Linked DNA regions of Homo sapiens: regions 2, 3, 4 and 5 are each linked to region 1. The links are contacts of gene promoters, found by promoter capture Hi-C in blood cells and fetal thymus (Javierre and others, 2016). All regions are on one chromosome and are shown on one strand. The core of a region is centred on a gene start or on the middle of the fragment in contact, and the rest is flanking DNA. Distances in the headings are between cores, read along the strand shown.

Region 1 (2,526 bases), core at 10-2,509:
AGAATTGCTACAAAACAAGTAAAACAGGCACAAAAAAATTTAAGAATCTGTAATGATCACTCATTAATTTCAAGATCGCACACAGTTAATTTCAATCCAACACTTGTCTCTATTTAAGGTATATGAGAAATAAAAATCCAAAGCATTAGCCTGATGATCAGCCAGTTAAAAATACACATTTGAATACGCCGAAGATATTTATAAAGCCAACAGAGATACTATTAATACGTTGAAATTCGCTGGCCAGTGCTGGATTCTACCCTAAATCTTCTACTACTATTCAAGAGAAGCCAAGTAGTCAAGGCTTCTCGTATCACTTGCTTTTAAGAATTTAAGAAGTCACTCAAATTGGCATACACAACCCAACCTCAAAAAAAAAAAAAAAAAAAAAGAGTTCAGCTCTCCATGTGGTAATGTTCTCCTATCTCCTTCCTTTACATTAATGTCCCATGTACTACTTTTCCACGATCTTCGGTAGGCCCCATTTAGGCAGGCCAATAGTACTACCAAGTAACAGGAGTTGAAAAAAGTCGTAACAGTTAAGTCTGCCCTCCCACAGATCTCACTTGGGTGTAGATTTCACAAGCGCTGAAAGCTATACGCTGCCACTGTCAAACCCAGAAGCAGCACCGTCACCCTGCCGTGCCCATAGGCAACTGTTCCAGAATGTTTTCTTTGAAATGATCTCTCCCGGCTCCACACGTTAAACAAGAACTTAAAAGGCCACCTTCTCCCCTAGAGCAGAACCTGATTCTTTCCCGTCCGCTCCTTTATTCGTCCAGCCCCATAAAACCCGAGGCGGGAGGTCCGCTCCCCGGCCCCTAGAGCCAGCGGGTCTCCCAACTGCTCGCCGCACCCACCGTCCACCCCCGACTGCCTCACGCCTCCTCATTCCCCCACAGCCGAGCCTGCACCCCGGCCGGGCCCGCAGCCGAACCCCGGCCCGGGCCTGTGTTGCCTCGAGCGGCCGCAGGCCTAAGGCCTAACCTCCTCTGGGGCCCCTCACCTCTTTCGGGACCAGTTGGTTCTCCTCGCCGGGCACCATCGCTGACTCCGGCCGCTCCTCTCCGCCCTGCCGGGGGAGGGTGGAGGGTGGCGGCGGCTCGCTAGCTCAAGAGAGAATGGCAGCGGCAGTCATCCTCTCCGCCGCCTGCGCTCCAGCAATAGCGGAGGCCTCAGCCTGGGCCTCAGACACCAGCGCGCAGACACCGACCCAGGGCTCCGCCGCCGCCGCCGCCGCTACCACAGCCGCCTTCGTCGTCGGCCCCTCCCCCAGCCCGCTGCAATCAATGGAAAAATGGCGGCGGCCGCTCTCGCGAGAATTCGGCCCGTCGGGCTCCAAGCCCGGCGCCTGGCGTCGGAGGTGGCCGGCACTTGTCGCTAGCTTCTAGTCACCTCGGCTCTTCCTCAGCCCCGGGAGGTACAGAATTGGCGAGACAGCCATGCAAACGCTTTTCGTTAGAGGAGAGCTGGACGTTCCATCTCGGGACTCCCTCTGCCGGCCGGGGAAGGACCAGGCCCACTGTCCTCCCTGCCTTCTCGGGCTCTTCGGACTCTCTGCCCTGCAGGGAAAGACTCGAGCCGAAAGCCCCATCTCTGACCCTAGCAACTCATACCCTTCTGGCTTCCCTTTAGCAAAGCGCCTGGACGTCATCCCCTCTTCAGATACCCCAGGCCTCGTCCTGGTAGAGACACCACCGCGGGCCACCTCCCGGCCCCCGCCCTTAGACACGGCTCTGGCCCTTCCAGTCAGAATGGACAGCGTTTTATTTGCTCCCGTTCACTCTCCTGACGTTCTTTTCCCCTCTCCCCACCCTCCCTCTCAAGGGCCCCCAGCTGGAGGGACCTCAGGGGCCACCCCCTGCTTGGGGAGGCAGCCACCCCTTCCCTTATGAAGCGGTGTCCTCACCGCCCGCCCCCCGCAACTACATTGGAGAGGCGCTCCCCTGCCCTCTTCCAGGGAACTTCCTTCTCCATCAGGGCCAAGTCTGAGACTGAGCTAGCCTTCCAAGAGTAGAGCTGCAGTATGCTTCAACCTGTGATCTCCGTTAACAAGGTTTTTAGAGAATTTTAATCTTCTCTAGTAGTAAGCATGGTGCTTTGTGTTATACTAAACAAAGTTTGCAGAAGTCATTTCTCCAAATCCTGCTTCCATTATGGAGACTCGGCGGGGCTCCTTCATGAAGACTTTTATGGATACAGTGATCTTACAGCATGCTGAGATAATATAATCTTGTCATGTTCCTAACACCCACAGCATTAACTGCCTGCACTTGTGTTCTCCAAACTTTTTTTTATTGTAATCCCGTTACCAAAAAAAAATCCATATACTTATATAAGTTTTATACGTGTCCTGCTGTGTGCAGAATTATAAAACATTTGTAAAATGTAAAAAGGCTAAGACAAAGATGACATAAACATTTAAAATAACTTAGTTATTTTCCATATTAATGGTATAAAAATCTTTGTTATTCTCACTAAAAATATTTAAGGAAATCAATATGATTGACTAGGTTTCGTTAGTTT
Region 2 (2,526 bases), core at 27-2,526, 1.1 Mb after region 1:
TTATTTTTACCTGATCATACATAATAATTTTATCGGCCATTGTATACAACAAGGTGGCCTGTGTAATAAGATCCTTTTTATTGTCCTTATTCTTTTCTTTCCGAGCCTGTTGTACATAATACGCTGCCAATGTATCCAAGCAAGTCATCTGGTCTTTTTCATGGTCTCTATAGTCCAAATTGCCATCTATACGTGCTGCTTCCAACAATTTTACAAACTCTTCTGTTTTTCCTTGCTTGTAGTATTCCAGCTATAAGGTAATGAAACAAATTAGAATCACTAAAGCATATGTCCATATAAAAAGTTGTACACAAATGTTTACAGCAGCTTTATTTGTAATAACAAAAAACTGGAAACAATCAAAATGTTGATTAACAGGTGAATGGATAAACAAGCTGTGGTGTATCCATAAAATGGATACTATCCTACAATGAAAAGGAATGAACTACTGATACATGCTACAACATGGATAAATCTCAAAATAATTATGCTGAATGAAAGAAATCAGACCAAAAAAAGAGTACATATTGTGTGATTCCATTTATATAAAACTCTAGAAAATGTAAAACAATCTCTAGTGTCAAAAAGCAGACCAGTGGTTGTCTGGCACAGGGATTAGGGGTGGGGTGGGGGACTTGTGGGGAGTGGTACAGAGGACACTTTCAGAAGGTGATGAATGTATTCATTAATCTTGATTGTGGTGATGGTTTCACAGGTATATACAGATGATAAAACTTATCAAATGGTAAATGTCAAATATGTGCAGTTTATTATAAATCCATTAGACTTTAATAAAACTGTTTAAAAAACTGGAATCATTCACAATGTTCCCAATCTGCTGCTTATCTAGTTGATTTCTAACTAAAATTTTCAGATAAGTAGAGCCTAAGAGAGAAAACAATAGTGAAAGATATGAAGAATTCTAAATAGAAAACTTGGGTTCTGGTTCTAGATCTACCAAAAATTATCTGTGATTTGGGCCTGTTTAACAACTTCTCTAGGCATCTGTTTGACTTATAAATAATAAAAGAAATATCCACTAGGTGTGGTGGTATGTACCTGTAATCTACTACTTGGGATGCTGTAGTGGCAGGATGGCTTGAGCCCAGGAGTTTGAGTCTAGCCTGGGCAAAATAGAGAGACTCTGTCTCTATGTGGAATATCCACCACTTATTAACCACTGACTATTGGTCACATACCATGAAAGGAATTTCATACACATATTCTCTAATCTGTACAACCACTCTATGAGGTAGATGCTAACATCTCTATATTTTAAATGAGGACATATGCTCAGAAGTTAGATCATTTGTCTAAGGTCACATAGCTAGTTAGCAGCCATGCCGGGACTTGATCTAACCCCAAAGCCTACATTCTTTTCCCTGTAAAAATCTATATCCCACAATGTGTCATTAATTTATTCTACTACAGGTGCCATGCTAATCCTCCAATATTCTAATTTTTGTTTAAGTGCTGTTAAGGAGGGCATATGTACTTAAAAATATATATATATATAATATATATTATATATACATCTAAATTACCATCTGGTTTTAAAAAAAATGTGTGTGACAAGGAGGCTTGGTCTCCATGGAATAAGAAAAGTTGGCACTTCAAGTCAAGAAGGCACTGCTTGTCACTGAAAATACTTCTCTGTAAATCCACATCTAAAAGGAAGAAACTCTTAGAGCAGTCTTGAGCACTGGATATAAGCCCAATTCCAGACCTATTTCTCTGACTCTTCAAGACAATATTAGGAGCCTCTTCTGTATGTTTGTATGAAAGCAATGTGGCATATCTACTTAGGAATAATGACTGTAACATTTATATTACCTATTCCTATAAAAAGAAAACATCATTATGCAGCTGATGCTGGCAAGTAGAGGATATAGAATTTTAGGGTTTCTGATTGGATTTTCTTGAGAATCTCCAGTAAGATTCACATTGAAGGAGACTAAATAGGACAAAAAACATAAGTCTGAGATAAACTTCACCCAAAAGAACTTTTGTGATTTTGGGTGAAGTGATTTTCCCAGAACCTAATCACATTCTAGAATATTTTAAGGGAAGTGTTTTGTTGTTATAGGAAACAATGTTAAGCAGCAATGTTCACACAGAAGCACTTCGCTTCTTTTCAGCTTATCTATAAACCATAAGCCAGCCTTCACTGAACAAGCACTAAATAATAAAATATTCAATATAGAGTACTACTTAAATGAATTTTGCCTTTACCAACATATACTAATTCACCAGTAGAGCAGCATATCATTTAGGAAAACGGCCTTATTGTTCCATAAATTATTAACACAATTAACTTCCATACACATGGTATAACTAATCTACCATGCAGCCAAGCTGGCTATTACTATATCTGAAAACAGAAACTACATATTTTCCTAGTCAACAAATAAAAAATATTTGCTACATGAATACTGACCGCCAAAGCAATCCATATGTGCAGTTGTGTGTGTTCCTGTTTCAGAATACTGATAACTTCATCTCCCTCCGGTAACTGATCGAAGTCAA
Region 3 (2,526 bases), core at 27-2,526, 1.1 Mb after region 1:
AATGGTAGAAAAGAAACCCCACTGCAAATTTTCTTATGATGAAAAATTAATGGCTACCATCCTAAGCAGAGGATTTTTTTTTTTCTTTTGAGATGGAGTCTCACTCTGTTGCCTAGACTGGAGTACAGTGGTGCAATCTCGGCTCACTACAACCTTGGCCTCCCAGGTTCAAGTGATTCTCCTGCCTCAGCTCCCCGAGTAGCTGGGATTACAGGTGCATGCCACCACTCCTGGCTAATTTTTGTATTTTTAGTAGAGACGGGGTTCCACCATGTTGGCCAGGCTGGTCTCGAACTCCTGACCTCAAGTGATCCGCCCTCCACCCACCTCATCCTCCCAAAGTGTTGGAATTAGAGGTGTCAGCCACCACGCCTGGCAGAGGACTTTTTTTTTTAAACATACAAAGTGTATGCATGCACACAATTCATTAATTCCAGTATAACTGGAAAATACAAGATACCTGTTCTTTAAGAAGTTTCTGCCTTAACAGCTCCTTTTCTTGCTCTTGCTTGGCCCGCAGCTCCCGCTCTTCTTCATCTTGTTTGCGTGCCCGGGCCACATGGTACTGGGCCTGGCTCAGTAAGTCAGAACACTGCCTAGAACATTTCAGGTTTAGAGAAACATGAATGTAACTACTATATTAAAAAACTCAGCACATCTATTTTCCTTATACAAATTAAAAAATCTGAAGCAGGACCATTAGCTGATCTATGTGAAGTCTTTTTTTAAAAAAATGTTTTTTTTCTTCCTTTTTTGTTTAAGAGACAGAGTTTTGCTCTTGTTGCCTAGGTTAGAGTGTAATGGTGCCATCTCGGCTCACCGCAACCTCCGCCTCCGGGTTTAAGTGATTATCCTGCCTCAGCCTCCCGAGTAGCTGGGATTACAGGTGTGCACCACCATACCTGGCTAATTTTGTATTTTTAGTAGAGACGGAGTTTCTCCATGTTGGTCAGGCTGCTCTTGAACTCCTGACCTCAGCTGATCCGCCCACCTAGGCCTCCAAAAGTGCCAGGATTACAGGTGTGAGCCACTGCGCCCAGCCAAAAAAAATTTTTTTTTTTGCATTACACTTGCCATACCATACCAATGTATGGAGTCTTAATTAGCAAAATTAACTTAGTTTATCATAAGCCAATACTGCCAACTATGTTAAGTTTCCAAACTATAAATGTCCTCTCAAAGCACAGCTAAAAAGATTTCCAACATTATCTTTACATATAACTCAGAGTCATGAATTTTATCTTGACTAGGCTGACATAGCTGACATAAGTAAAATAGAAAAGTATTTTCCCCCAGAACTCAAGTACTTGTACTAAGGCAATTTTGTCCAATTCCCTGAAAGGAAAAAGTCCTGGCAAAGATTAGAGAGTCCCCAAGAGAAGTGTGAAAGACTGACCTGTGGAAGGTCAGGAACCTCTGTTCCCTACTGTGGCACTTTCCCAGCCCATGTAAATATCACTGCCTCACCCAAAGTCACCTTCCATAAATAGTAACATTACCTGGCTTCTGTAGCAGCAAGGGCCAAATCAAATCTCATTTTATCTCCCACTTTACTCAAATAACTGAAGTATCTAAATGAAACGAGAAAATACTTCACTTTTAAAAAAAGAGATTCTAATGAAATAAAGCTCTTAAAAAATTTAATCTGTGCTACAAAGTCTGAGAAAAGGTTTGCATATTGACTGATTTACACAAATTTATGCCACTCATTACATTTAATAGACACGTTCATCAAGATGGTCTAAGTTATATTTAATATTATCAGTAAATTCACAAATAACCACAAAGCAATTCAAGCAACAAGTATTTACTAAACATGAAATTTACTAAATATGTCAGGATGGAGGTTACGGGGCTCAGGCCATGAAAGCACTTATAATTTACCAGGCAAGGCAAGAATTGTTAAACAAGAATAAAAATATTAAGTTGGACAAAACCTGAAGAGATGACAGGTTTTAATTTCACCACACACTGACTCACCATATAAATACTATATGGCTAAATAAATTTTGAGCTGAACTGAATAAAACTATTAAGCATTATTTAAGAAGTAAAACCTTAATCCTAGTTCAATGAAAATCAACATCCCATTAAAAGACACATTGGTGTAAAATGGAAGACCAACGTAAGTGTCCAAAAAATTTCACATGTGTAAAATGCTGGGTCACATTACTGTCAGATTAATAAAAAATCTATGGCAAGTTTGCAAAGCTAGCCAGCCAGTTCTAGAGGTCAAGCTACAAGATCCAAATCTGGCAGGATCCTGACTATAGTTTGGCACCACCTGGTGGCAGCTGCTATCTGCTTTGGCTTAACTATTGCTGGAATGATTCTAATAGACCACCTTTAGAAGGAAGTGATTTTCAGCAGCTTGAGACAAATAGCTTTAAACAAAGCATTTCAGACAAAATCGGGAGAGTTCAAGATGGTATGGTCATAGACCAAATAAAGCATTTCATAGGTTGTTTCTACAAAATCTTTACCTATGTGCAAGCTCCAGTTCTTTCACAGCATTAAGTACTTCCT
Region 4 (2,526 bases), core at 15-2,514, 1.0 Mb after region 1:
GGAGGGACCGTTCATGCCACCCAGGATGAAAATGGATAGGGACCCACTTGGAGGACTTGCTGATATGTTTGGACAAATGCCAGGTAATTTTGAAAAAACAATGGTTGCGTTAAGCTGAAAAATCAGTTAACTTTAGTTTTGAGAGTTGTCCGTATATGTATTTTAAGGTAGCGGAATTGGTACTGGTCCAGGAGTTATCCAGGATAGATTTTCACCCACCATGGGACGTCATCGTTCAAATCAACTCTTCAATGGCCATGGGGGACACATCATGCCTCCCACACAATCGCAGTTTGGAGAGATGGGAGGCAAGTTTATGAAAAGCCAGGTAAGTAATATTTGAGTGTGCATGTTTTCTAAACCTTATCTGCAACATTTATTTCAAACTGAAATGTTTATCCTTAAGATTAGTAAAGTATTAGTAAAATCACATCACTTTATTTGATAGGTTAGATTTTTATTCTTCCCTGTTTCATCTTTTACTTTCTCTGGGCAAATTCAGTTAAACTAACTTTATGGCTTGGCTCATCCCTTTGGTACTTGATTACCATAATTTGTGGACCCCTTTTTATCTAGACTTTCTTTCTCCTTTTCTGAAATAGGGGCTAAGCCAGCTCTACCATAACCAGAGTCAGGGACTCTTATCCCAGCTGCAAGGACAGTCGAAGGATATGCCACCTCGGTTTTCTAAGAAAGGACAGCTTAATGCAGATGAGGTACATTTGCCTATGTTACTTATATACCATAGTTTGTCCATTCAGAAATTTATTGCCCGATGATTATAAAAAGACGCGTTATTAAGAGGACTTTATGCTGGAGTTCTTGACGTTTTTCTCTCTTTTCTATACTTCTTTTTCTTTCTTTGAATGTCCAGCGTCCTGTGAGCGAAGATTATGAGATATGAGGGCAAGTCTCCTAAAGTCTGTTAGAGCAAGAAAACTGGTTGTCAAAATATTGTGGTTTCTTTCTTTGTAAGGGTGATTTAACTAAGGATAAAACAGGGCATTTTCTAAACTGTAGTTAAATTTGCAGTTTTTTATTTGAATATTTTAGTCATGCTAATTCTAAGAGAATGTAAGATTTATAATAGTATCTTACTACTGTATGCATCAGATCTTTAAATTTTTTGCCAAAAATTAAACCTGTTAATGTGGAGTACCTTCTTTAGTTTTTCAAAAAGCTTAATGTTTCCCTAGATTCTGTCACTGTATAGGATTTTAGAATGTTGTATTTAATATGTTCGCCAACTGCATGTTGTTAATTTAGATATATTTTGTTTTCAATTCCAGATTAGCCTGAGGCCTGCTCAGTCGTTCCTAATGAATAAAAATCAAGTGCCAAAGCTTCAGCCCCAGATAACTATGATTCCTCCTAGTGCACAACCACCACGCACTCAAACACCACCTCTGGGACAGGTACAGACCATAGTAGGACAGCATTTTCTAAAGATATCTGAAGACTTTTTTCTAAATTTAGTGTGTTCTTCCCCCTAATTTCATAGTCCTCTTTTTAAAAAAAGTCTGTCATTGCTTGTTTTTTAGACACCTCAGCTTGGTCTCAAAACTAATCCACCGCTTATCCAGGAAAAGCCTGCCAAGACCAGCAAAAAGCCACCACCGTCAAAGGAAGAACTCCTTAAACTAACTGTAAGTTTCAAATATCCCATTTTAGTGTAATTAGCCTGTATTTGAGATAGAGAATACATTAAAGATACTTGTGTTCTTCACAGGAAACTGTTGTGACTGAATATCTAAATAGTGGAAATGCAAATGAGGCTGTCAATGGTGTAAGAGAAATGAGGGCTCCTAAACACTTTCTTCCTGAGATGTTAAGCAAAGTAATCATCCTGTCACTAGATAGAAGCGATGAAGATAAAGAAAAAGCAAGTTCTTTGATCAGTTTACTCAAACAGGAAGGGATAGCCACAAGTGACAACTTCATGCAGGTAGGACACTTTACTGATTGTGTGGTAAGAACTCTTACCACTCAAATTCGAAAACTGATAAACTGTTGTATATTTCTTTCAAGGCTTTCCTGAATGTATTGGACCAGTGTCCCAAACTGGAGGTTGACATCCCTTTGGTGAAATCCTATTTAGCACAGTTTGCAGCTCGTGCCATCATTTCAGAGCTGGTGAGCATTTCAGAACTAGCTCAACCACTAGAAAGTGGCACCCATTTTCCTCTCTTCCTACTTTGTCTTCAGCAGTTAGCTAAATTACAAGATCGAGAATGGTTAACAGAACTTTTTCAACAAAGCAAGGTCAATATGCAGAAAATGCTCCCAGGTAAGAGAATGCTGACTTGTTTGTTTTGTTTTTTTAATATTATATCTAGAGATTTCAGGTACCTTGAGTGGATTTATGTAGGTCAGACAGTCTGATTGTCCTGCTCAGATAATGATAAACATTACCACAGATCTCACCTATAAAGAGAGATTTATAATTTAACTACTTTCATTTGATCCGTATGTTGAGTTTTTTTCATTTGCTGGGTTGGTTCTCTATTCTGCTACATGGATCTTACA
Region 5 (2,526 bases), core at 8-2,507, 1.0 Mb after region 1:
GAAAAATACAAAAATTAGCCAGGCATGGTGGTGGGTGCCTGTAATCCCAGCTACTACTCTGGAGGCTGAGGTGCAAGAATCACTTGAACCTGGGAGGCGGAGGTTGCAGTGAGCTGAGATCACGCCACTGCACTCTAGCTTGGGTGACAGAGTGAGACTCCATCTCAAAAAAAAAAAAGGGGGGGGACAACAGAGTGTAAAAATGTGGAAAATTTGCAGCTGACCATGTAGTAGACAAGAAAAAACCATTTATGGGGAGGAATTTAAGCCAGCTGCAGAAATTTGCATGAGTAACCAGCAGCCAAACGTTAATAGCCAGGACGATGGGGCAAATGTCTCCAGGGCATGTCAGAGACCTTCATGGCAGCCCCTCCCATCACAGACCTGGAGGCCTAGTAGGAAAAAATGGTTTTGTGGGCCAGGCCCCGCTGCTGCTCTGTTTGTAGCCTTGGGACTTGGCACCCTTCATCCTAGCTGTGGCTGAAAGGGTCCAAGGTACAGCTTGGGTCATGGCTTCAGAGGATGCAAGCCCCAAGTCTTGGCAGCTTCCATGTGGTGTTGGGCCTGCGGGTGCACAGAAAAACAAGAAGTGAGGTTTGGGCACCTCTGCCTAGATTTCAGAGGATACATGGAAATGCCCAGGTGTCCAGGCAGAAGTCTTCTGCAGGGGCAGAGCTCTCACAGAGAACCTCTGCTAGTGCAGTGTGGAAGGGAAATGTGAAGTTGGATTTCTCATGCAGAGTCCCCACTGGGGCACTGCCTAATTGGAGCTATGAGAAGAGGGCCACCATCCTCCAAACAGGTTGCACCATTAGCCTGGAAAAGCCGCAGATACTCAATGCCAGCCATGAAAGCAGCCAGGGCGGGGGCTATACCCTGCAAAGCCACAGGGGCAGGGCTGCCCAAGGCCATGGGAGCCCACCTTTTTCATCAGCATGACCTGGATATGAGACATGGAGTCACAGGAGATCCTTTTGGAGCTTAAAGATTTAATGACTGCCCTGCTGGATTTCAGACTTGCGTGGGGCCTGTATCCCCTTTGTTTTGGCCAATTTCTTCCATTTGGAATGGGAGTATTTATCCAATGCCTATACCCCCATAGTATCTTGGAAGTAATTAACTTGCTTTTGATTTTATAGGCTACTAGACAGAAGTGGCATGCCTTGTCTCAGATGGGACTTTGAACTTGGACTTTTGGTTTAATGCTGGAATGAGTTAAGACTTTGAGGTACTGTTGGGAAGGCATGATTATGTTTTGAAATGAGAGAAAAAGACTTGGGAGGGGCCAGGGGCGGAATGATATGGAGGCTTTGTGTTCCCACCCAAATCTCATCTTGAATTGTAATCCCCATAATCCCCATGTGTCAAGGGAGGGACCTGGTGGGAGGTGAGTGGATCATAGGGGTCGTTCCCCCGATGCTGTTCTTGTGATAGTGAATGAGTTCTCACAAGATCTGATGGTTCTATAAGCATCTGGCATTTCCCCTGCTCACCCTTCTCTCTCTTATTGCCATGTGAAGAAGGTCCTTGTTTTTTCTTCACCTTCCACCATGATTGTAAGTCTCCTGAAGACTCGCCAGCCATGTAGAACTGTGAGTCAATTAACCTCTTTTCTTTATAAATTACTTAGTCTCAGGTAGTATCTTTATAGCAGTGTGAGAATGGATGAATACACGAAGATCCCCCTTCTAGACACCAGAATGTATAATCTTGGTGTAAACTGTTTATCTCATCATAGCTATAGATGAACCCATCTTTGGCTACTGAATCTCCCCTGTATTTCTGAACCTTCCTCTGCCATCAGCCAGGCCAAACAGGGAGGCAGTTTCTAATGCCTAATTTTAGACCTAAGTCTTGTACACTTAGGCCTATCTTAGAATGTCATAATTCACCAATAAGTTCTAAAATAGGACATCTCTAGCAAGACATCATTACTTATTATTTGTGCCCATAGAAACTTCTTCCTCTGCCTTCATTAAGGCTTTAATCATTTATAGTCTCCTAAGAGACCTCTTTTATTTTTTTCTATGTTTATATGTTGTCTCTCCAACAAGGCTATGACCTCTTTTGGGGACAGTTACCCCATCTCCTACATTCTGTAGTCCTGTTGTGCATAACAATATTAATCAATCCATAAAAATAATTTTTAAAACCTGGATTCAGACCAAATCTTTCAAACTTTTCCCACTCTCTGGACAAAGGCCGAGAAAGAAAAAGAATAGAGTCCTTACCTTACTGAAATATTCAACCTATTTGAAGTCAAGTAATTCAAATCTCTTTGGCTTTATGGATTTCAATCTATTCCCACCCATCCAGAGTGTTACTGGTTTTTATCTTAGCTTTTGATTTCTTTCCACTGAGAGCTGCTCCTCTGCTCACCTTTAACTGCTCTTTCCACTCATACTCATGGCACTTTATACTTCCTCTTTCATAACACATCGCATTTGGATTTATTTTTCACTATCTTTCTTCTCCCAAGGACTTTTAGTTACATGTAGGCAGAGACAATTTCTTCCTTCTTCATTA

The links. Contacts are between HindIII fragments. The CHiCAGO score rates a contact against its expected background, and 5 or more counts as called.
Region 2: a fragment that was not itself captured here is called in contact with the fragment with the promoter of USP47 in region 1 in 2 of 17 cell types (naive CD8 T cells and total CD8 T cells); the score reaches 6.1 in naive CD8 T cells.
Region 3: a fragment that was not itself captured here is called in contact with the fragment with the promoter of USP47 in region 1 in 5 of 17 cell types (naive CD8 T cells, total CD4 T cells, naive CD4 T cells and 2 more); the score reaches 9.6 in naive CD8 T cells.
Region 4: a contact is called between a fragment that was not itself captured here and the fragment with the promoter of USP47 in region 1, in 10 of 17 cell types (non-activated CD4 T cells, naive CD4 T cells, total CD4 T cells and 7 more). The highest score is 13.1, in non-activated CD4 T cells.
Region 5: a fragment that was not itself captured here is called in contact with the fragment with the promoter of USP47 in region 1 in 1 of 17 cell types (naive CD8 T cells); the score reaches 5.0 in naive CD8 T cells.

The regions. Positions count from the first base shown.
Region 1 is chr11:11,840,705-11,843,230 of GRCh38, reverse strand. USP47 (ubiquitin specific peptidase 47) reads right to left here and starts at 1,259. Exons shown (of 28, transcript NM_001282659.2): 1 at 1,007-1,259. The coding sequence starts at 1,045. It overlaps LOC107984311 (a long non-coding RNA gene), which reads left to right and starts at 1,390. Exons shown (of 4, transcript XR_001748134.3): 1 at 1,390-2,056. RefSeq lists enhancers at 1,016-1,155, 454-1,317, 1,366-1,535, 1,318-2,183. The HindIII fragment of the contact is 16,233 bases long and covers 1-2,526 here.
Region 2 is chr11:10,752,682-10,755,207 of GRCh38, reverse strand. CTR9 (CTR9 component of Paf1/RNA polymerase II complex) reads right to left here. Exons shown (of 25, transcript NM_014633.5): 2 at 2,438-2,526; 3 at 11-250. Among named protein-coding and RNA genes, the nearest start is that of CTR9, 2.7 kb to the right of the region's middle. The HindIII fragment of the contact is 5,641 bases long and covers 1-2,526 here.
Region 3 is chr11:10,770,590-10,773,115 of GRCh38, reverse strand. CTR9 (CTR9 component of Paf1/RNA polymerase II complex) reads right to left here. Exons shown (of 25, transcript NM_014633.5): 18 at 2,484-2,526; 19 at 1,500-1,571; 20 at 461-596. Among named protein-coding and RNA genes, the nearest start is that of CTR9, 21 kb to the right of the region's middle. The HindIII fragment of the contact is 4,881 bases long and covers 1-2,526 here.
Region 4 is chr11:10,799,851-10,802,376 of GRCh38, reverse strand. EIF4G2 (eukaryotic translation initiation factor 4 gamma 2) reads left to right here. Exons shown (of 22, transcript NM_001418.4): 12 at 1-83; 13 at 168-328; 14 at 603-716; 15 at 1,290-1,415; 16 at 1,542-1,646; 17 at 1,730-1,945; 18 at 2,029-2,287. It overlaps SNORD97 (small nucleolar RNA, C/D box 97), which reads left to right and starts at 769; the gene lies at 769-910. The HindIII fragment of the contact is 163 bases long and covers 1,183-1,345 here.
Region 5 is chr11:10,827,258-10,829,783 of GRCh38, reverse strand. No RefSeq gene overlaps it. Among named protein-coding and RNA genes, the nearest start is that of EIF4G2, 20 kb to the right of the region's middle. The HindIII fragment of the contact is 5,436 bases long and covers 1-2,526 here.